Regions from separate parts of the Homo sapiens genome. Here all the other regions are linked to region 4. Evidence: promoter capture Hi-C in 16 types of primary human blood cells and fetal thymus (Javierre and others, 2016). All regions are on one chromosome and are shown on one strand. The core of a region is centred on a gene start or on the middle of the fragment in contact, and the rest is flanking DNA. Distances in the headings are between cores, read along the strand shown. Region 1 overlaps IFNGR2 (interferon gamma receptor 2). Region 2 has its middle 4.4 kb from the start of LINC01690. Region 3 has its middle 13 kb from the start of IFNGR2. Region 4 holds the start of LINC01548 (long intergenic non-protein coding RNA 1548). Region 5 overlaps LOC105377136 (a long non-coding RNA gene). Region 6 has its middle 23 kb from the start of LINC01690. Region 7 has its middle 13 kb from the start of LINC01690.

Region 1 (2,798 bases), core at 215-2,714, 240 kb after region 4:
GGCATCCTATAACTAAACAAATGGCCGCAGACTTGGCAATTCATCTTTCAGAAGAAGAGCCAGTGGTCAGGCTGTCAGCTGATCTCTTTGAGGTTGAGCGCATTTACCGAAAATGTGTGGCTTGAATTTCCTGCTTTGAATTTTGGAACAGCATGTTTTTCAAACCTTTCTTCCACCTTCTGGGCATTTCTTATTAATCTTTTTGGTCAAAAGCCTTATCTTGATTATGTTTTCTTTCTAAGACAAAGGGCTCCCTGTGAAGTACCTGCTTGGGAAAGGGAGGAGTTGTGGCAGTTTCTTCTAGGTCCCCGAAGGCTCCCTGTGAAGTACCTGCTTGGGGAAGGGAGAGGTTGTGGTTGTTTCTTCCAGGTCACCCCAAAGAGAGGGATTCTGATATTGGTGGTGTTTCCGGGGGAGTATATTCTTTCTCTGTTTATTGCCCCCTAACCTTTTTTTTTTTTTTTTTTTTTTTGGAGACAGAGTCTCTCTCTGTCGCCCAGACTGGAGTGCAATGGTGCGATCTCAGCTCCCTGCAACCTCTGCCTCCTGGGTTCAAGCGATTCTCCTGCCTCAGCCTCCTGAGTAGCTGGGATTACAGGCGCTCACCACCGCACCTGGCTAACTTTTATATTTTTAGTAGAGACAGAGTTTTGCCATGTTGGCCACACTGGTCTCAAACTCCTGACCTCGAGTGATCTGCCTTCCTTGGCCTCCCACAGTGCTGGGATTATAGGTGTGAGCCACTGAGCTCGGGCCGTGTTGTCCTCTAACTTTAATGTGTGTGAGAAGCAGCTGGAAAGCTTGTTTAAAATGCAGATTTCCTGGGGGCCTCAGGACCTGCACTTTAACCAGCACCCCTGTGATTGCGATGCTGGGGGTCCTTGAGAGACGACAACTCTGATGGTGCCCAGAAGTCGGCGTTCCTTGCCCTCCCCTGCAGCTTGGGCTTTGCGTACCTGATTTAGGATGTTTGTGTGTTTTTGCGTGTGTAGTGTGTGCACGTGTGCACGTATTTGCGGACATTTACCAGACACTTCCTTGGTACTAAATCTGAAGCTAACGCGTGTCACATGATCACCACGTTAATCTTCGCCACAGCCCTGTGGGTGTATCATTATTGACCCCTTATTCCTGAAAAAGAAAACTCAAGCTCAGACAGGTGAAGTGACCTGCCCCGAGCCTAATGCAGTTACTAATGGTAGAACTGGGACCCCAGTCCGGCCAGACTCCAGGGCCCAGGACCTGTTCGTAACAACTGGGACCTGCAGGTGGAAAGGCTGCCCCAGGCGCCTCTTTTCTTTTTGTGCTGCCTGTACCAGTAGGGCCATCTTTGTAGCCAAAAGTCGGGGGTGTGGGGCCATGCCCAGGGGGACCTGGTAATGCCATTTCTGCACTTTGACAAAAACTGAGTTGTATGAATGACTTAGATAATGGACATTGAAACATTTTTGTAATTATTTCCCTCTCTCTCCTCCCTTCCTCCCTCTTCTTTTTCTCTGTCCCCCTCAAGACCCTCTTTCCCAGCTGCCCGCTCCTCAGCACCCGAAGATTCGCCTGTACAACGCAGAGCAGGTCCTGAGTTGGGAGCCAGTGGCCCTGAGCAATAGCACGAGGCCTGTTGTCTACCAAGTGCAGTTTAAATAGTAAGCCGGTATTTCTGTTGGATCCTTGCTGGGAGCTGTGGGGGCATCGTGCGGAACCCTGGGGCCACATACTAGTCCCTGCCTCTGTGCAGGGTTTGTTATCAAACCCGTGGGAAACACATCGTTCTTGGAGCTTGTAAAATCTCTGAGGACAGAGGTTTCACAGCCTCCCACTCATCTGAAGGCTTAAACTACACTGGCAGTCAGGACTCCGCTGTCTAACCACACGGGTTCTTGCTTTGGTGGAAAGTTCATTCTTTCGCTGGTTTCAGGAGAAAGGTTGTAAAAATAGGCTTCCACCATGGAAGAACAGGAGGCAGCTTTTAGTCTTCATCTTCGGGCTTAAAAATCGGATTGATTTAACCTTATAGACCAAATATGGCCTGATCAGAAATTTGTTTGGTTAATTACAATGAATTCTGAGTTTCTCAACTGGTTTTCCATTTTGCATATTATCCTGGCTCTTTCATCTGTCTCTTGCCTCTTCAAGCTTTTGCAGAATTGGCCATCACTTGATTTGCAATATAAATACATATAGAAAGAGGGCAAAGTCCACATCCTTTGTTATTTTTTGTTTACGTTGTTAAGTAGGTTAATTGAAGAGTAAGGTGAAGTTATTGGCTAAGTCATTTTGTACTATTTGGTAAACCAAATGTAAAGACATGATGATGTCCAGTGCTTGTGAGATGGGACTGGTTCATATGTGTTCACCTGATGCTGTTTGCAGAATCAATTAGCATAGCCCTTTCAAAGAGGAATTCTACCAGACATTTGAAGTCATGGAAATGTCCATAGTAGTTTTCCAATGTGTGTGTGTGTGTGCACGTGTGCATGTGTGTCTGTTTGTTGTTGTTGTTTTGAAACAGAGTTTCCCTCTATCGCCCAGGCTGGAGGGCAATGGCATGATCTCAGCTCACTGCAACTTCCACCTCCTGGGTTCAAGTGATTCTCATGCCTCCTGAGTAGCTGGGACTACAGGCATGAGCTACCATGGCTGGCTAATAGGTATATTTTTAGTAGAGATGGGGTTTTGCCATGTTGGCCAGGCTGGTCTCAAATTCCTGGCCCCATCCTCAAGTGATTTGCCCGCCTGGGCCTCCCAAAGTGCTGGGATTGCAGGCATGAGCCACCGTGCCCAGCCTTCATAGTAGTTTT
Region 2 (2,831 bases), core at 274-2,773, 210 kb before region 4:
TTAGGCTATGGAGACACTGAGATGGCTAGAAATGATCTTTTCCATCCCCCAACAAGAAGACTTCATAGTCGAGTAGGCTGCCTTTCTCGTTCTTGTACACTATCCCTCGAAATTTTTTAAAAAATCAGAAAGTGCACCGGGCACGGTGGCTCACGCTTGTAATCCCAGCATTTTGGGAGGCTAAGGTGGAAGGATCACCTGAGGTTAGGAGTTCGAGACCAGCCTGGCCAATGTGGTAAAACCCCATCTCTACTAAAAATGCAAAAATTAGCTGGGCATGGGGGTGGGCGCCTGTAATCCCAGCTACTCAGGAGGCTGAGGTAGGAGAATTGCTTGAATCTGGGAGATAGAGTTTGCAGTGAGCCGAGGTCATGCCACTGCACTCCAGCCTGGGCAACAGAGCGAGACTCCATCTCAAAAAATAAAGAAACCTAGAAAGTGCAAAGTATGTCCATAGGCAATCAAAATGATGCTTGAATTTGGGGTGGGGGAAGGGGCAAGATCTCATGTCAAACTGGATTACTATCACCTCGACAGGCACAGGACTGGCAGAGTTAAAGGAAAATAACAAGTCAACAGCCTCTTCCCCAGGGGCTCAGTAATGTCCCCAGCCTTTGGCTCTGGTGTGCTTTGTGCAAAGGGCTAAAAATAGCAGAGGCGTGCTCAGGATTAAGATGGCCTTTCAATCACAAGTCAGGGAAGTAGTGATTTTCCTTAGACAAACCCTGTTGCTACTGGTGGGGGTGGGGATGGAGGTCGGGAGACATACGACTTTCTCATACATTTGATTAAAACTTTGGCAAAGTTAAGAATCTTCATAGTCTCTAAATCTCCATTTGCACCCACCCTGACCTTTCTTAAGTATAGTTTCATTGATTTTTTAAGGCTATCTTTGAAGCTAGAATGCTGAATAACTCTAAAACTTAACAAAAAGTCCACTCTTTTGGTTGCCTGTTTGTGTGATAATACATCCTCTTAAAAAACACAGCCCATTTTAATTTGCATCCATCCACCCTTCACCTCACCATCTATAGCACCATAAATACATTCATCAAAGAAGGCAGCATAAAAAGTAGTAAGCGTGGAGAATGGTGAAGTGTCAGTTACAATTAATAGCTTTGGAAATAAAAGGGATAATATTGTGTCTCATTTACAAGTTTTGAATTTAATTTCACAACTTACCATTTGAAATAAATTAATGCCAGAATTGACCTGTTATGAAGTCTGTTTGTAAATAAAATTGGCCCAATTTAGTCAGGGGTGGGGAGTGCATCTTAGTCCCAGCTACTCTACTGAGGAGGCTGAAGTGGGAGGATGGCTTGAAGCCAGGAATTGGAGGCTGCAGTGAGCTATGATCATGCCACGGCACTCCAGCCTGGGTGACAGAGGGAGATCCTGTCTCTATAAATAAATAAATAAATAAAATCAGCTCAACTATTTATGTCAGTGTCGTAAATACAGAAACCAAATCCTTAAGATGCCCTAGAAGTGGAGGTTGGGTGGGAGGGAATATCCTCCCCAAACTTCAAATCACATCCATGCTCTGAGAGCTCCATTGGGTTGCCAAGCTCCATTCAGTCTCATTTTCCTCTTAACAATGCACGTGCGCAAAGGCTTCCTGCCTGGGAAGGCACCAGGCATCTTTTTAAAGAAGTGCAAGGATTTTAGATGAGGTCAGGAGTTGGGCATGGGAGCGAGGTGAAGGGTGAAAAAAGTTAAGCTACTCTGGTGTAAACCACCACAAACTCCCTGTTCCTGCTTTTATTCCTTCCCTAAAACGTTTTCACTTTGGGAGAAGAAAATTTTAACAAATCATTATTATTAATAAAAAGCTGTAAAGTGGGCTGCACATGGTGCTCATGCCTGTAATCCCAGCATTTTGGGAGGCCAAGGCAGGAGGATATCTTGAGCCCAGGAGTTCAAGACCAGCCTGGGCAACATAGTGAGACCTCGTCTCTACAAAAACAAACAAAATTAGCCAGGTGTCCTGGCTCGCACTACTCCAGAGGTTGAGGCGGGAGGATTGCTTGATCCCAGCAGGTCAAGGCTGCATTGAGCTGTGATCACACCACTTCACTACAGCCTGAGCAACAAAGGGAGGACTCTGTCTTCCCAAAAAAAAAAAAAAAAAAGGAGGAAAATGGCAGGGTGGGAGGGGGTGGGGAGGGGGTGAAATCACCCATAACGTCAGAGGCAGGTGAACCAGAGCAACTCCATCTTGAATAGGAGCTGGGTAAAATAAGGCTGAGACCTACTGGGCTGCATTCCCAGATGGTTAGGCATTCTAACTTACAGGATGAGATAGGAGGTCAGCACAAGATACAGGTCATAAAGATCTTGCTGATAAGACAGTTTGCAGTAAAGAAGCCGGCTAAAACCCACCAAAACCAAGATGGTGACAAGAGTGATCTCTAATTGTCCTCACTGCTACACTCCCACCAGGGCCATGACAGTTTACAAATGCCATGGCAATGTCAGGAAGTTACGCTATATGGTCTAAAAGGAGAGGCATGAATAATCCACCCCTTGTTTATCATATCATCAAGAAATAACCATAAAATGGGCAACAGCAGCCCTCCGGGCTGCTCTGTCTATGGAGTAGCCATTCTTTTATTCCTTCACTTTCCTAATAAACTTGCTTTCACTTTAGTCCATGGACTCACCCCAAATTCTTTGTTTCAAGAGATCCAAGGGCCCTCTCTTGGGGTCTGGATCGGGACCCCTTTCCTGTAACAATAATGGCACAACCCAAATACAACTACTTTAATGTTTCAGTCATCTCTTTCCATTATGTCTCTAACTGCATTTATATTTACAGTTATAATGTGCAT
Region 3 (2,922 bases), core at 254-2,753, 220 kb after region 4:
GGTGGGAGGATTGCTTGAGCTCAGGAGTTTGAGGCCAGCTTGGGCAACAAAGCAAGACCCCGGTTTTAATTTTTAAAAGAAAGAAAGAATGGAAGGAAGGAAGAAAAGTCCTACAGTAGGTTGAAGTTGAAGTGTGGCGACAACACTTTGGTCACCGATGTATCTCAAGTGTCTAGAACAATGCCTGGCATCTAAGAAGTGCTTAGTAAATATTTTTTGAGGAATAAAAAAGTAAATGAGTTTGTCTCTCTCTCTCTTTTTTTGGCGGAGGAGTGGGCAGGGTCTCACTCTATCACCCAGGCTGGAATGTGGTGATGCAATCATGGCTCACTGCAGCCTCGAACTCCTGGGCCTGGGCGATTCTCCTGCCTCAGCCTCCCAAGTAGCTGGGACTACAGGTGCACACCACCAAGCTCGGTTAATTTTTTTTTTTTTTTTTTTTTTTGAGATGGAGTTTCACTCTTGTTGCCCAGGCTGGGGTACAATGGAGCGATCCCAGCTCATGGCAACCTCTGCCCTCTGGGTTCAAGCAATTCTCCTGCCTCAGCCTCCTGAGTAGCTTGGATTACAGGCATGCACCACCACGCCTGGCTAATTTTGTATTTTTAGTAGAGATGGGGTTTCTTCATGTTGGTCAGGCTGGTCTCAAATTCCTGACCTCAGGTGATCCGCTCGCCTTGGCCTCCCAAAGCGCTGGGATTACAGGCGTGAGCCACCGTGCCTGGCCTCTAATTTTTTCTTTTTTTTTTTTTGAGACATGGGGCTTTGCCACATTATCCATGCTGGTCTTGAACTCCTGGGCTCAAGCAATCCTCCCGCCTCGGCCTCCCAAAGTGCTTGGATTACAGGTGTGAGCCACCGCACCTGGCTGAATCTCTTTTTGATACTTGGATAAGTCCAAGCTTCAGCATTAGAATATCATATCTGGTAGTGTTGCCTTTATTTGAGCCAATGTTTTTTGAGGTGAGGCTGTTTCCTAGGCAATGTGAGTGATGTTCATTTGGAAAACAGGAATGTCCCTGGGTCTTGAGTAAAGTGGGTTCTGGAGCTTCCTTTGCCTAGATGCCCCTATGCTACCTGGGGGAATGAGTTAGGAGGCATGTATGGATGTGCCCAGGTCCCTGGGTGTTGGACTGGACTGTGCTGGGAGGAATGGTGCCCTCCCCACTGCGTGAACTGGGAGGCCCAGGCAGGGTGGAGGCTCCCCCAAGCCAGGGGAGGTCATGGGACTGTGAGTTGGGGGTGCAGCCCATTGACAGATGAGAAGAAACTGCCACTCAGTGGACACCCCCCAAGTGCCTTGGGGATGTTGAAAAGCTCTGTGGATTGGTGCTTGTCTAGCACAACCAGAGGAGCCACCCCAGTTCCTGCCAGGGGCTCCCCACCTCCCACACAGAGAGTCCAGCCACCTGGGGATCTACCACTAATGCCAGAACAGAGGAAAAGGAGGGGATTTGACAGACTCTCCTACTGCAGACCCCAAGAGAATCGCCTGGGACTGGATGTAATGCAACTTGCAGTCCACTCATGGTCCTCTGCATTGCACGATCACCATGGTTCCAGATACTAGATGCTGTGTTCAGTGATTGACCGGGCATTCTCTGTCGCTGCCACTAAAACATAAGCTCCACAAGCTCAGAGTTTTTATCTGTTGTTCTCAGAACAGTGCCTAGCACAGAGTAGATGCTCAGTAAGTAAATATGTGCTAAATACATGAAAGAAGCGAGGGAGGGAAGGAGGGAGGAAGGGAGAGAAGGCACCATATTCCAGACCACCGCGTCCTTTCTGAACATGCTCCACCGCCCCTAGGCTGTCTGTGTTCTTGCCCTCATCCACAAAGGTACCCACATGAATTCGTGTTTGCTTTGCTTGGATCTGTTTTGTATGGATACACTAGAAGTCACACACTATGATGTTTGAGGTTTCCAAGATAAAAAGAAAGTTCACAGTGACAATAGTTTAAGATTCTGCAAAAGAAAGGACATTACATTAACGATGTATTTAACACTCACAAAATGTAGCATAATCTCTACATAATGGCTTACGCCCAGTGCCCATGACTGTACTGGGAAGTCACTATACCCGGGAGCTGGCCAAGGAAGGCTGAAGCTTGAGGGCTGCTGACAGTGAATGTGAGGCATTCGGCATCTCCTCTTATCACTGGTCAAGACGTGTTCAGGGCTTTGCAAAGTCAAGACTGTACCTGTAGAGAATGTCCTGAAACTATAGGCAACCTGATTTTCATACAATCTGGAAACACAGGAGAAGCAAAAGGTTCCTTCCTCTCCTGTCCTGTGTGTGGTTTCTACACACTTCTCAGAAAGGGTGAAATAATGCTGCCTTCTGGCCGTTTTGCTGGTGCTTAAAAATTGAGGAGTTTCAGGATATGAATTTTGGCCATTTCTGTATTGTAAGATTATGGAGGAATTGTTTTTTCTTCTTTATACTTTTCTGTATTTTATAGTTCCTTGACAATGAACAAGTACTACTTTTTGTTTTATTTTTTCCTGAGACGGAGTCTCGCTCTGTCACCCAGGCTGGAGTGCAGTGGCGCCATCTTGGCTCACTGCAACCTCCACCCTAGGTTCAAGTGATTCTCCTGTCTCAGCTTCCTGAGTAACTGGGATTACAGGTGTGTGCCACCATGCCCAGCTAATTTTTGTATTTTTAGTAGAGACGGGGTTTCACTGTGTTGGCCAGGCTGGTCTTGAGCTCCTGACCTCAAGTGATCTGCCCACCTCAGCCTCCCAAAGTGCTGGGACTACAGGCGTGAGCCACCACGCCTGGCCCAAGTACTACTATTATAAAGACAACAGCAACAAAAAAGTTAGAAAAATTTATGGGCTGGGTGTGGTGGCTAACGCCTGTAATCCCAGCACTTTGGGAGGCTGAAGTGGGAGGATCACGTGAAGCCAGGAGTTC
Region 4 (2,990 bases), core at 2-2,501:
AAAGTTTTCCCCCAAGGAAAGCCACCTCCCTTGAGCTTCCAAGTTTACACACAAGCCAGTATAGCTAAGCAAGTCCCCGCAGGCTTGGACAGAAAGCCTGCCACAGCAGATACCCACTGCCACAGCTGTCAGGTGACAGCTTGTTGCGGTTGTCAGAGCAACGCCCAGGAGCAAAAAAGGCGAGCCAGGTCAGGCGCAGTGGCAAACTCCTGCAATCCCAGCAATTTGGGAAGCCAAGGCAGGAGGATTGTTTGAGGCCAGGAGTTCAAGACCAGCTTGGGCAAGAAAGAGACCCCTGTCTCTACAAAACATAAAAAATTAGCCAGGCATGGTGGTGCGTGCCTGTGGTCCCAGCTACTCAGGAGGCTGAGGCAGGAGGATAGCTTGAGCCCAGGAGGTCAAGGCTGCAGTGAGCCATGGTCGTGCCAGCACACCCTAGCCTGAGTGATAGAGCGAGACCCTGTCTCTAAAAACTTAAAGAAAAAAACGGTGAGCCAAGAGCATGTGAAAGGAGCGTGAAAGGAGCATGAAAGGGAGGTGGGCAGAAGAAGCTGGTTGGATAGAGGAAGTGAAAGGAAGAGGCGCATTTGTACAGACAGCCGCCCTTCTGGACCGAGTAACCACGTGGAGAGTGGTTCTCCATCCACCCACATAGGACGCACAAGGAAAAGAAGAGGTTCCCAAAGATAAGGGATTTCATGGGGAAAATACCTCATCGAATGGACTGCGACCCTCAAGGGAAGATGTTCCATAAGCTCGGCGCGAGTCAGGCAGTAGGGAGAGGTCTTGAGATCACAGGTGAAGTGAAGGCTCCCAGGAAGGGTGATTGCAGGGCGAGGGCCTCCTGACCTGGAGACAGGGCCCCAAGGAACAGTCATACGAAGAGGGCAGAGGACAAATGAAGAGGGAGTGGACAGAAAGAGAAATGGGAGGAGAGCCATGTGCCAGGAGCCAAGTGATTTAAATGCAGGTGTAGTGCCCTGGAGAGTTCCATGTGTAAGAACAAGTAAATCATTGTTGCTTACCTCTCCCTTGAAAAAAAAAAAATACCCTGCTTCTTGTCCTAAGTTCCCAGGCTCTCTTTTTGCCTACTCCCTCCCCAGTTGCTGAGTCCAGTCAACCCTCCTGCTACAGTATCCCCTATAGCGCCATTCACCTGCCCTCCTCTGCTCCCTTGGCCAACATCTAGGTTCAGAACCTCATTGTCTCTCTTCTGGTCTGTCCTGCCTCCTCCTCCCTCTGCTGCTGTCCATCCAGGTGGATTTTCCTAAAGGGAAAAGGTGCACTTGAGGGCAAATTTCTCTTGGCCATGCACTTAGGAGGGGGATTTCTGGGTAAAGGGGTAAGTTCACTGCTTTTCTAATTCTCTACTTTTTCCTTATCCTCACCCATAAATCTTACAACCCCCTTGAAGTGCAATAACTTTATTTCTAGGACCTCTCAGAGCCTTTGCCTGTGCTGTTCCCACTTGCCGGGAATGCCTTTCCCTTCATCCCCAATAGTTCAAGCCCCACCTTTTCCTGAGCCCAGCTCAGATGCCACCCCCTCATCCAGGAAGGCCTCCTTGATACCTCCCTACCAGAATTAATCTCTCCTTCTCTTGTGGTCTGAAGACTCTTGGCTTTCTCCCCTGTCCTATTTTTGCTTGTTATCACTGACATTGCTTTACACGCTTTTTCTCCTCTGCTGGGAGCAAGGGCAGTTTCTATGTCACAATGCCCCACTATGCCCATTAAGCTACAGTGCACATGGTACCCATCCCGAGACCAACATTCTTTTTACACTTCTGTGCTTCTGACCTAGGAAAGTCTTACTTTTCATAGAGTGTCATAGCTGAGTTGGAAGCTCTTTTCTTAGAGCCTCTTAAAATAATGGCGTGCCTTATAGTCAATGATCTCTTACATTCCATTAAATACAGTAGGAGATGTTCAACCAATATTTGCTAAATTGGAGGAGTTAAAGTCATTTTGAGTAGGAGAGGGAATCTAGACCCACTATTTGGATTAGTACAGATTTTAGTGCAACTCAGGGCTTCTGCAGAGCCCCTCCAGCTTTCACCTGTCCACTTAGTTGATGATGAGCACGCCTGCGAACTCTTCACACTTTCCAAACCCACCAAGGCAGCTTCTCCCGTAAGGACATGTTTCTTACCTTCAAGACCCCTGTTGCCTCCAGCAGCAATCTCAGTAATGACGTCTACTTCTGTTTCCTGCTTCCTTCTCCCTGACTCCTGCTTCCTGGAGTCCCCTCAGATAAACCTCCTGTGCCCAAGACCTTGTCAGGGTCTGCATTTACGGGAACCCAACTAAAATTCCAGGACCACCATATAAAGGTCCCTTTGTCGGGGGCTGGGCCTGCTCTGGATACGGTAGGGAAGTGGCTCCAGGGTCTGCGGCCAGCGAGGAGAGGGTCCGGCAGTCACCAGTGGGAGCTGTTTCCTCCCGTATTCCTCCCACCTGTCCCTACCTGTCCTGCTGGCGGGGTAAAGAGTGGGATTTACCTCGTGACAGCTGCCTTACAGCCCCATGAAAAGGCACTTTGGGCTGCGGTTGGGGGGAGCGCATCTCCAGGGATTGCAGGGTAGGAGGACAAGAACTCTCCCTGGCCTGGGAGTCAGGGAAATGGAGAGATCAGAGCAACACAAGTGCTGGGAACAGATGGGGCTTCCTGGGCTCCAGCGCTAATTAACCAGCTCTGCAGCTCAAGGCCTGGGCCTCATGATAGTAGTCTGAGGGCCCCTGGGGTGCAGGGTTGAGCACACAAGGCTGCACACAGGCAGAGGGAGAGGGGTGATCCCGGGAACAGCCATCCCTCCATTCCCTAATCCAGAGGCCGCTGCCCTTCTTGGGCCAGAGAGCAGCAGCTTCTAATACAGATCTGGGCTTCTCACTCAGCAGGTGCCAGGGACCCAAGGAGACAAATGGAGGAAAAAGAGTGAGGAACTCCTGCCCCAAGGAGGCCGCTGCCACCGCCCACTGGCCGCATGCCAA
Region 5 (2,894 bases), core at 272-2,771, 250 kb before region 4:
GCTCATAAACTGGTGACACCAGAGACCTATGGAAGTGGGAATCAAGGTGGATCTACAAGCAGAAGGACAGATTAAACATCCTTCAGGTCCTTTTAAGAAGTAGTTAGATCTCCAGCCTTCCTCGCTTATTCTTCGATGTCAGGCGAGAGAAATGTTCGCATTCCAAACGTTGAGATCACTGGTCATTTTCCTGATCATGTTTCCAGAATAATGGTAATAAGGACTATAGCTTCCATGGGAGAGCCGTGAAGCCTTCACTGCAGCTCTTCCAATAGTATGAGAGGAAAGAGTCATACATACTGCCATCCAAGATTCCCCAGGGAAACGGCCCAAGCAGGTCACTGTGCTGAAGCCCAGACAAGCCCCATGTAAATGCACAGAGCTTACCATCAGCTGTTAGTGACCCATTATTCAATACGGGGAGATAGTTAAAGACCATTTGGTATTTGAGAACAGCCTCTAAGGCAGAACCAGAGAAAGGTGGAAAGTAACTCAGAGCTAACATAAGTTATAGAAGCTATGAAGGGAGAAGAAATGTTTAAAAATTATTAATCATTACTATTCTAAGAATAAGCTATTGCATCCATGGAATAAGAATAAGATACTAATTTTATTTTTAATTGACAAATGATAATTGTATTTATTTTATGAGCTACAAGGTGATGTTTCAGTACATGTATACATTGTGAAGTGATCAGTTCAAGCTAATTAACATATTCATCACCTCAAATAGTTATCATTTCTTTGTGGTGAGAACATTTAAAATCTACTCTGTTTCCTATTCTTAAATATAATGTATATTAACTATAGTCACCATGCTATGCAACAGATAACCAGAACCTATTTCTCCTGTCTTTGTACCCTTTGACCAGTATCTCCCCTTTCTCCATTCTCCTTTTCTCCCCTGCCCCAGCATCTGACAATCGCCATTCTTCTCCCTGTTTTCATGAATTTGACTTTTTAAGATTCAACATATAAATAAGATCATGTGGTGTTTCTGCTCCAAACCAGTTCTCTCGAACTTAGCCAAATGTCCTCCAGGTTCATCTATGTTGTAGTAAATGACAGATGTCCCCTTCTTTTTTTTAAGGCTGAGTAGTATTGCATTTGTGTGTGCGTGTGTGTGTATAAAATATTTTTTATATCAGGCACTTTGGTTGTTTCCATATCTTGGCTATTGTGAAGAATGCTGCAGTGAACATGGAAGTGCAGACATCTCTTTAACATACTGACTTCAGTTCCTTTGGATATATACCCAGAAGTGGGGTTGCTGGATCATATGATAATTCTATTTTTAGTTTTTTCAGGAACCTCCATACTGTTTTCCATAATAACTGTACTAATTTACATTCCTGCCAGCAATATACAAGGGTTCCTTTTCTCCATATCCTCGCCAATACTTATCTTTCAACTTTTTGCTAATAGCCAGTTGAACATGTATAAGGTAATATCTCATTGTGGTTTTAATTTTCATTTCTCTAATGATTAGAGATGTTGAGCATTTTTCATATATCTTTTGCTCATTGTATGTCTTCTTTCGAGAAATGTCTATTTGTCTTTGGCCATTTTTTAAAGGGGTTATTTGTTTTCTTGTTTTTCAGTAGTTCGAGTTCTTTGTATATTTTGGATGTTAGCTCCTTATGCAATGTGTAATTTGAAGATATTTTCTCCCGATCTGTAGGTTGCCTCTTCACTCCACTAATTGTTTCCTTTGCTTTGCAGAAGTTTTTTTAGTTTGATGCAATCCATTTGTCTATTTTTGCTTTTGTTGCTTGTGTAAGATACTAATTTTAAACAAACATTCAGAGAACAAACAAAAGTGCTTGGAAACAGGAGAAGTAAAAAAGTTAAGAAAATCTCTCAGGATATAGAGTAAAAACACGGAAAATAGGAGAGAAGAAATAATGAATTTATAGAACCACACCAGAATGTCAAACATCCAAATATGGAAAGTAGATTTAGAGACAATGGAAGGCAATTTTCCAAAGAAGCAATTCATGAAAACTTCCCAGGTATCAAGTTCCTGAATCAAGTTCCCAAGGTATCAAGTTTCACAATTGTACCTAGCACTATGGATGGATGAAAATTTATTCACTGAGACAAATCATTGTGAAATTTCATCATGATGAGAATAAAGAGAAGATCCTACATGTTTCCAGAGAGAAAAAAGATAACATGCTTTATACAAAGGATCAACAATCAGAATGTCATTGGACTTCTCCAAAGCAATATGGTGGAAGACAACAGAGAAATATTTCACTATTTGAAGAAAAAATATTTCTAAAGGCAGAATTTTATACCCAGCAAAACTATTAATCAAATGTAAGGGTATAAAAAATAGGTTTTCAGACATTCCAGGCCTTATACTAAAGCTATTGGAAGTTTTTTTTTTTTAAATAAAAAAGGAGTAAAATTTTAAAAGAGGAAGATGTATGGTCCAGGAAACAGAGACTCCATCATAGAAGGGAGGTGAAGGAAATCTGCACTAATATAATAACTGCATAGTAGACTTATAGGACAACAATCCAGAAGGTTCCAGAAGAGACTGCTTCAAAAAGATGGAATTATTGTGCTTGAACAAATTGAGAGGAGGGCACAGTTTGGGGACAAATGATTAAAACAAACAAAAAAAATTGTCTTTGTTTATAAAAAACAAAATATCTACCTATATGGATTAGAGAAAGTAAGTCAGGTAAAAAAGGGAATTTTTAACCTCAGGAAAAGCATAAGTTGTTCAGAAATGGAAAAATAAATGTAGTATTTATGGTTCAGTGATTCACAGTATTTAAAGAATTATAACAATGTAAACATTGTTAAAAAGTAAATTGAAGCTGGTTGCTCCAGCTTACCCCTGTAATTTCAGTACTTTGGGAAGCCAAGGTGGAAGGATCACT
Region 6 (3,055 bases), core at 397-2,896, 190 kb before region 4:
TCCTCTCAATGACTTGCCCTCCCGCCTCGCGACCCTGAGGATGATGGTCTGGGAGGTTTGGTGCCTGCTTTTATAGCTTTTCTGTGTCCTTCAGCTGTCACTTTAGCTTGTGGGGGCACCTTGCCTTCATTCTACTCTGCTGTTTCTATTGGCTTGTGAAGGCTGTTAACAAGGTGTAACAAGAATAAGTGTCAAAACTCTGGCTTTGTGATCCTGGGCAAATTATTTAATTTCTGTGTGCCTGTAAATGGAAATGGAAATAATACTTACTCCAGGATATTATTGAGAAGGTTAAATGAAATAATACACATCAAGCACCCAATGGGGATTGCAGTGTAGTAAATATACAATAAATATGAGTTATTATTAAGATGATAACTTAGTATCATTAGGAACAAAATATTTTTCCTGTGACAGGCATGAATTTCAACCATTGTATTTGGTACAATAGGAAGATCTTTAATTTTTGTTTGCTTCTTTCCAGTTTCTTGGCTTGATCCTATATCATAAGGTGGCTAGATAGTGTGCTTCCGGAAACTGAAGTGTCATGGTATTATGAAGCCAGTTGAGAAGGGAGCAGAGATTTCACCAAGAAATAAGTTCTGAGCCTAGCCCATGCAGAGACTGGACTAACTTTATCGGTTGAGAAGATTTTCTGAAGTGCACAAACCCCAGATCTGTAGCCCTCGTGTGGTCCATCTCCCCTCATCCTCATGTCTGCAGTTCACTGAGAAGAATCACAATGACGACACAATAGCTGTCACTCTTGAAACACCTACCACGCAACAGGCTTGATGCGCAGAGCTTTATTTACATGATGTTTTTTGTAGCCTCACCAGTGAGTTTCTTTCTGAAGGTCCATAAGCTGCTGGAGGCTTATTCATTTTCCCATAAGGGGCTGACTCCCAGGGAGGTAAAGGATGTGCCTGGACTCACCCAGCTGGCTAAAAGGGTCCCTGTTGCTTAACTCCCAATTCGGTGCTTTTGCTACTGCCCTGTGTCACATTCTTCTTGGTCCAGCCTCCTGGATTCACTGTGAGTCTCACCAGAGGCACATCGTTTCTGCGTCTTGGCAAAGGAAAGGCCAGCAGACATGGGGAAGGCCCAGGGTCAGACCCGCCTCTGTTGGAGCACCCCAAGGATAATCCTTAGATGAGGAGAGGACAGGGGACCAAGCAACTCTCACGCTTCCCCAAGTTACAGTTTATTTTTCCATTGGCTGCATAATTATGTTTTATTGATAATACATGATTGGTGTCAATGAATCTCCACTTCTAGAAAGAACCACTGTTGAAACTTCATCCTGTATATTTTTATCAAAATACACACACATATGAGTGAGATCATAAACTTGAAAACATTTGTTTGTCTGTTTTTTCATGAGCAGGAGAGTGCGGTGTTTAAGAATATGGGCTTTGGAGTACTTTATGTTTGGAGTATTTCCCTTCTCTCCCCTTCTCTCGCCTTCCCTCCCCTTCCCTCCCCTTCCCTCCCCTCACCTCCCCTCCCCAAGGCGTGCTGAGGGACAAATGCATTAATATCTGTGATATATTTGCAACAGCATCTGGCACACGAATAGTATTAGACAAGCGAAGTTTTTTGGTCATAAATAAAACAAAATATGATTTTATATATCAATACACACAACTTTATGTATTAATACAAAAAGATCAACCTTTGCTTTCTCAAAGACTGTACTATATTCCATTCTATCATTATTTATTGAATTAATTTTCCAGTGATGGACATTTAGCTTTTTCCAACTTTTGGTATCATAAACAATGATGCAACAAACATCCTTATGTATATTATTAATAATATAGACATTTTGTCATACATAAATACATATATACATATCTTAACATGCATCCTTATGTATGTTATTGATAATATACATATTCTAATGTCTGTCTTATTGTTTCCTTTGAATAAATTCCTAAGAAATGGAGTTACTGGATTAAAAGATGATATAACTAGTCTGTGCTCCAGAGAGGTTAGATGAAATGGTATTTCAACCAAACCCTCACCAATGCATCTCATTATCGTGTTTGTCATCTTTGGCAGTCTGAGAAGAAAAATAAAGGAGGGGTCTCATTTTGATTTGCGTACAGTTGATTAAAAGCAAGACTGAGCATCTTTTCATGTGTTTTGTTCACATCCTCTGTCCATTATTCTACCGATGTCATTATTAAAATTATTATCACTTTGTCCCGTATGTTGCAAGTATTTGTGCCAGTTTGCAGTTTGTCTTTTAACCTCGTTTCTGGCTCCCTGTGCCATATAAAGCAAGGGTGGAGGGAGCAACTTGGAGAAAGCACCATTTCAGCAGAGACAGGGAAGCCAAGTCTTTTTTATATTTATTTATTAATTTTTAAATTTTTATTTATTTGTTTTTGTAGAGAAGGGGTTCTCACTATATTGCCCAGGCTGGTCTTGAACTCCTGCCCTCAAGCAATCCTCCCTCCTCAGCCTCCTAAAGTGCTGGGATTACAGGTGTCTTAATTCATGGCTGGGGTCCCCCAGGATCCCTAGCATAGGGGCATACAGGGAGGGGTGTCATTCCAAGCAAACAGACAACCAGGTTGGATCCAAAGGCCTATAAAATACCTAAAGCCATCAACTTCCTTCTGCCAACGAAAGCAAGATGAAATTTATCACCTGACTCCTACACAAGGATATAGGTCCCTCCTGTTCCCCTTCTTAATTTATCACCTGAGTCCTATACAAAGATAAAGGTCCCATCTGTTTCTCCTCTCCTTTCCTCTTCTCTCCTCTCCTCTTCCCTCCCCTCCTCTCCCCCTCCCTGGCCCTCCCCTCTCCTCCCCCTCCCCTGCCCTCTCCTCCCCTCCCCTCCCCTCCCAGCATGAAGGCAGCTGCAACAGTATGTCTGGTGCCCAGGATACAGGGTATTGGGGACAGGGTATGGAGGTAGGGGGCAGAGAAAGCAACTCTTTGGAGACTGGTTACAATAAACAAGCAAGTTACTTACTTGAGTCAGCAAATAAGCAAATATACCAAGGCTAGTGAGAGGCAGGTTGCTCACTGTCAGAGAATG
Region 7 (2,829 bases), core at 163-2,662, 220 kb before region 4:
AAAGCAAGGCTGATGTGCAGGAATGCAGGGAAAGGACTCAATGACAGGCTACTGTATCTGGATGACTGAAAAACAGACACCTTCACCCCTGGCCAATCTCAAGCTGGCTCAGCATTTGTTTAGGAGAGTTTAGAAGACTTTAGCAGAGCCAGAGCCCCCAGGAGGGGCCGTGACTCATGTGTCAAACATCATCAGGAGACTGGGCACCATGGCTCATGCCTGTAATCCCAGCACTTTGGGAGGCCAGGATGGTGAGATTGCTTGAGTTCAGGAGTTCAAGACCACCCAGGGCAACATGGCCAGACCCTGTCTTGACAAAAAATACAAAAATTGGCCAGGCATGGTGGTGCGTGCCTGTAATCTCAGCTACTCGGGGGCCAATGTAGGGGGATCACTTGAGCCCAGGAGGTTGAGGCTGCAGTGAGCTGTGGTTGCACCACTGCGCTCCAGCCAGGGCAACACAGCAAGACCCTGTCTTACAACACAACACAACACAACACAACAAAAAACCCACATCATCAGGGAGCAAGACAGGGGTCTCAAGGGTGGTGGCAGGTCAGAATGTCACAGGCCGCATCAGCACATTCATTGCAGGCTAAGCAGTGAGAACATGGAGACTGTGGTCATCTAACCTTCCTTCCAAAAGGGGTTTTCAAATATTGTTTGAGTGGCAGACAAAGATATGAAAAACATTGAGGCAGAGCTTCTCTGGTTGAAGTGAGAAGAGGGTGGGCAAGGGGTCTGGAGGCAGGACAGGATGGGGAGAAGGATACCTCTGGCATCCCCCTTGCGTGGCCTTTCTCTTGATCTGGTGCACCTGCAGGACCTCCATGGAACCCCAGGATTCCTCAGAACACAGTTGGAAAACCATTGAATGGACCTCTCCCTTCTCCCTCATTCACGCATCCACCAAAGGCTTTCTGAGCTCCTCTGTGGAGGAAACCTCTGAGGTGCTACAAAACACAGATACTCCCAGCACACTTTCTGACTTCCACAGAGTAGAAACTATCAGAAAAGATTAGATCATAGTTTTATTGGAGAATTGCTGGGCAATGCAACAAAATGAGTATGCCTGGGGTTATGAATACCATGAATACCTGGGGTTATGAATACCAAGAGCTATTCATGGTTATAGGTGGGTTTACCTAGTCATGGTAGCCTTACCTGAGACCTGGAGACTTAACCAGACAGTGGTAATGTCAGGCTCTGGCTCTGGGGGGAGGTTAGTGTGAGTGTGTGTGTATGTGTCTGTGTGTGTGTGCACATGTGCACGCTAATGGTAGTTCTTTCAGGCAACTGGACGTCTCTGCACATAGCAGGCGCTCAAGGGATATGGACTTTGACTGCTTCCATTGCCTACTCATGAGACCACCCTGTTCTATTACAGGAAGGTGGAATAGTCTCATGGTTTAGAACATGGACTTTGGAGCCACGCTGCTGAAGTTCACAACCAGCCTGGGTGAACTTGGGCACGTGACTGAACCTCTCTGTTCTGGTTCCCTGACCCATAAAAATGGGAGTGATGATAGCACTTGCTTCACAGAGTTGTTGAGAAGTTTGCATTAATCAACATCTCTAAAGCACTTAGGAAAGGCCTTGCTGTATGACAAGGACCATCATTTGATATGTGGTTATAAGAGGTTTTTTAATACTTGGACATTTTACTCTCAATAAATATTTGATTTTTATTTTTAGGAGGCAAGACTGGGAAAGCATTAGAAGCTAGCTGCTTGGAGGCCTAAATCCTCTAACTTCTCTCAAAATTTCTTAAATTTTTAAAATATATCAGCTGGTACCTTCAAGGCCAGATGTGAAAGTTATTTTATGATGGGAGCATCAGCTATCTGGTGTAAGAGCTGAATAGCTCTTAAGAGAAGCAAACAGGGTTGGAATCCAAGACTGACCCCTGATCTCAAGTTTTCTACTTCCCCCACCTCTTTGTCATAACTCAAGAATTAGTGGAGAAAAGAAAAGCATCCTTCATAAGCTATGATTATTAGAACAGCAAAGCCAAGAACAGTGGCCATTTAATGAGCACATACTACGTGCTCTAGGCCATGCTCAGTACTTTACGTAGGTTCTATCCTAGGCTGGGTTTCCCAGGAGCCCCAGAGACAAAGTTCATGTGCAAGTCATTTATGAAAGATAAGCTCCCAGGGAAAAGAGGTGAGTGAGTGAAGAAGCAGGACACGGAGAGGGAGGAAACCGAGCAAATGTATGATCTCAGGCAAAATCGCTCCAAGGCAACTGTCACCTGATCCTGCAGGGGACAGTGGAGTGTAAATTACCCCAGAGTTATGCCCAGTAGAAGCAAGGAAGCTGGGCTTTTCTTACTTGCATGCCATCAGTTAGAGGATCAGGCCCACCTTGGGGGAATACAAATTCCCAGGCACTTCCAGCTCCACATCTTTGAGTAAAGTGGGGCTCCAGTAGACCAAGGGAAGCCACAGGTGCTGGCTGTAGGTATGGGAAGCAAAACGAATCTCAAGAAGAAGAGTGCAAAAAAATGAGAAAAAGGGGTCCAAGGAGATCTCAAAGGAGAAGGAGTGAAGAAGCCCAGTCCTTCCACATAAGTGTGACTTGGCTCCAAAGAGAAAATCTGGAAGCCATGATCTTGGCTTCCATCAGCTATCATCAACAAATCGCAGGGGAGGCCATGTGGCCCATGGTTGTGAGTCATCCCTCGAGTAAGATTCAAATCCTCCTGCTCCATTCACTGACTGTGTGAACTTGGTGATCTCATTGACCTCATTTTCTGTATCTGTAAAATTGAGACAATAATAGAACTTGTATCAAAGTGAGTTGTTCTAGCTAGGTGTGGTGGCACAC

What was found. The method cuts DNA at HindIII sites, captures the fragments that hold promoters and counts their contacts. A CHiCAGO score of 5 or more calls a contact.
Region 1: a contact is called between a fragment that was not itself captured here and the fragment with the promoter of LINC01548 in region 4, in 1 of 17 cell types (naive CD4 T cells). The highest score is 5.7, in naive CD4 T cells.
Region 2: a fragment that was not itself captured here is called in contact with the fragment with the promoter of LINC01548 in region 4 in 10 of 17 cell types (M1 macrophages, M0 macrophages, M2 macrophages and 7 more); the score reaches 15.5 in M1 macrophages.
Region 3: a fragment that was not itself captured here is called in contact with the fragment with the promoter of LINC01548 in region 4 in 1 of 17 cell types (non-activated CD4 T cells); the score reaches 5.6 in non-activated CD4 T cells.
Region 5: a contact is called between a fragment that was not itself captured here and the fragment with the promoter of LINC01548 in region 4, in 3 of 17 cell types (M1 macrophages, M0 macrophages and M2 macrophages). The highest score is 6.9, in M1 macrophages.
Region 6: a fragment that was not itself captured here is called in contact with the fragment with the promoter of LINC01548 in region 4 in 4 of 17 cell types (M0 macrophages, M2 macrophages, M1 macrophages and 1 more); the score reaches 7.0 in M0 macrophages.
Region 7: a contact is called between a fragment that was not itself captured here and the fragment with the promoter of LINC01548 in region 4, in 10 of 17 cell types (M2 macrophages, M0 macrophages, M1 macrophages and 7 more). The highest score is 15.5, in M2 macrophages.

The regions. Positions count from the first base shown.
Region 1 is chr21:33,413,378-33,416,175 of GRCh38, forward strand. IFNGR2 (interferon gamma receptor 2) reads left to right here. Exons shown (of 7, transcript NM_005534.4): 2 at 1,511-1,643. Among named protein-coding and RNA genes, the nearest start is that of IFNGR2, 11 kb to the left of the region's middle. The HindIII fragment of the contact is 1,333 bases long and covers 799-2,131 here.
Region 2 is chr21:32,961,855-32,964,685 of GRCh38, forward strand. No RefSeq gene overlaps it. Among named protein-coding and RNA genes, the nearest start is that of LINC01690, 4.4 kb to the left of the region's middle. The HindIII fragment of the contact is 4,369 bases long and covers 1-2,831 here.
Region 3 is chr21:33,388,531-33,391,452 of GRCh38, forward strand. No RefSeq gene overlaps it. Among named protein-coding and RNA genes, the nearest start is that of IFNGR2, 13 kb to the right of the region's middle. The HindIII fragment of the contact is 1,207 bases long and covers 901-2,107 here.
Region 4 is chr21:33,168,985-33,171,974 of GRCh38, forward strand. It overlaps LINC01548 (long intergenic non-protein coding RNA 1548), which reads right to left and starts at 1,252. Exons shown (of 4, transcript NR_024102.1): 1 at 1,157-1,252; 2 at 712-849. RefSeq lists an enhancer at 464-533. The HindIII fragment of the contact is 7,514 bases long and covers 1-2,990 here.
Region 5 is chr21:32,923,031-32,925,924 of GRCh38, forward strand. The region is part of intron 4 of LOC105377136 (a long non-coding RNA gene); the gene reads left to right. Among named protein-coding and RNA genes, the nearest start is that of LINC01690, 34 kb to the right of the region's middle. The HindIII fragment of the contact is 3,884 bases long and covers 1-2,894 here.
Region 6 is chr21:32,980,361-32,983,415 of GRCh38, forward strand. No RefSeq gene overlaps it. Among named protein-coding and RNA genes, the nearest start is that of LINC01690, 23 kb to the left of the region's middle. The HindIII fragment of the contact is 9,870 bases long and covers 1-3,055 here.
Region 7 is chr21:32,944,158-32,946,986 of GRCh38, forward strand. No RefSeq gene overlaps it. Among named protein-coding and RNA genes, the nearest start is that of LINC01690, 13 kb to the right of the region's middle. The HindIII fragment of the contact is 5,112 bases long and covers 1-2,829 here.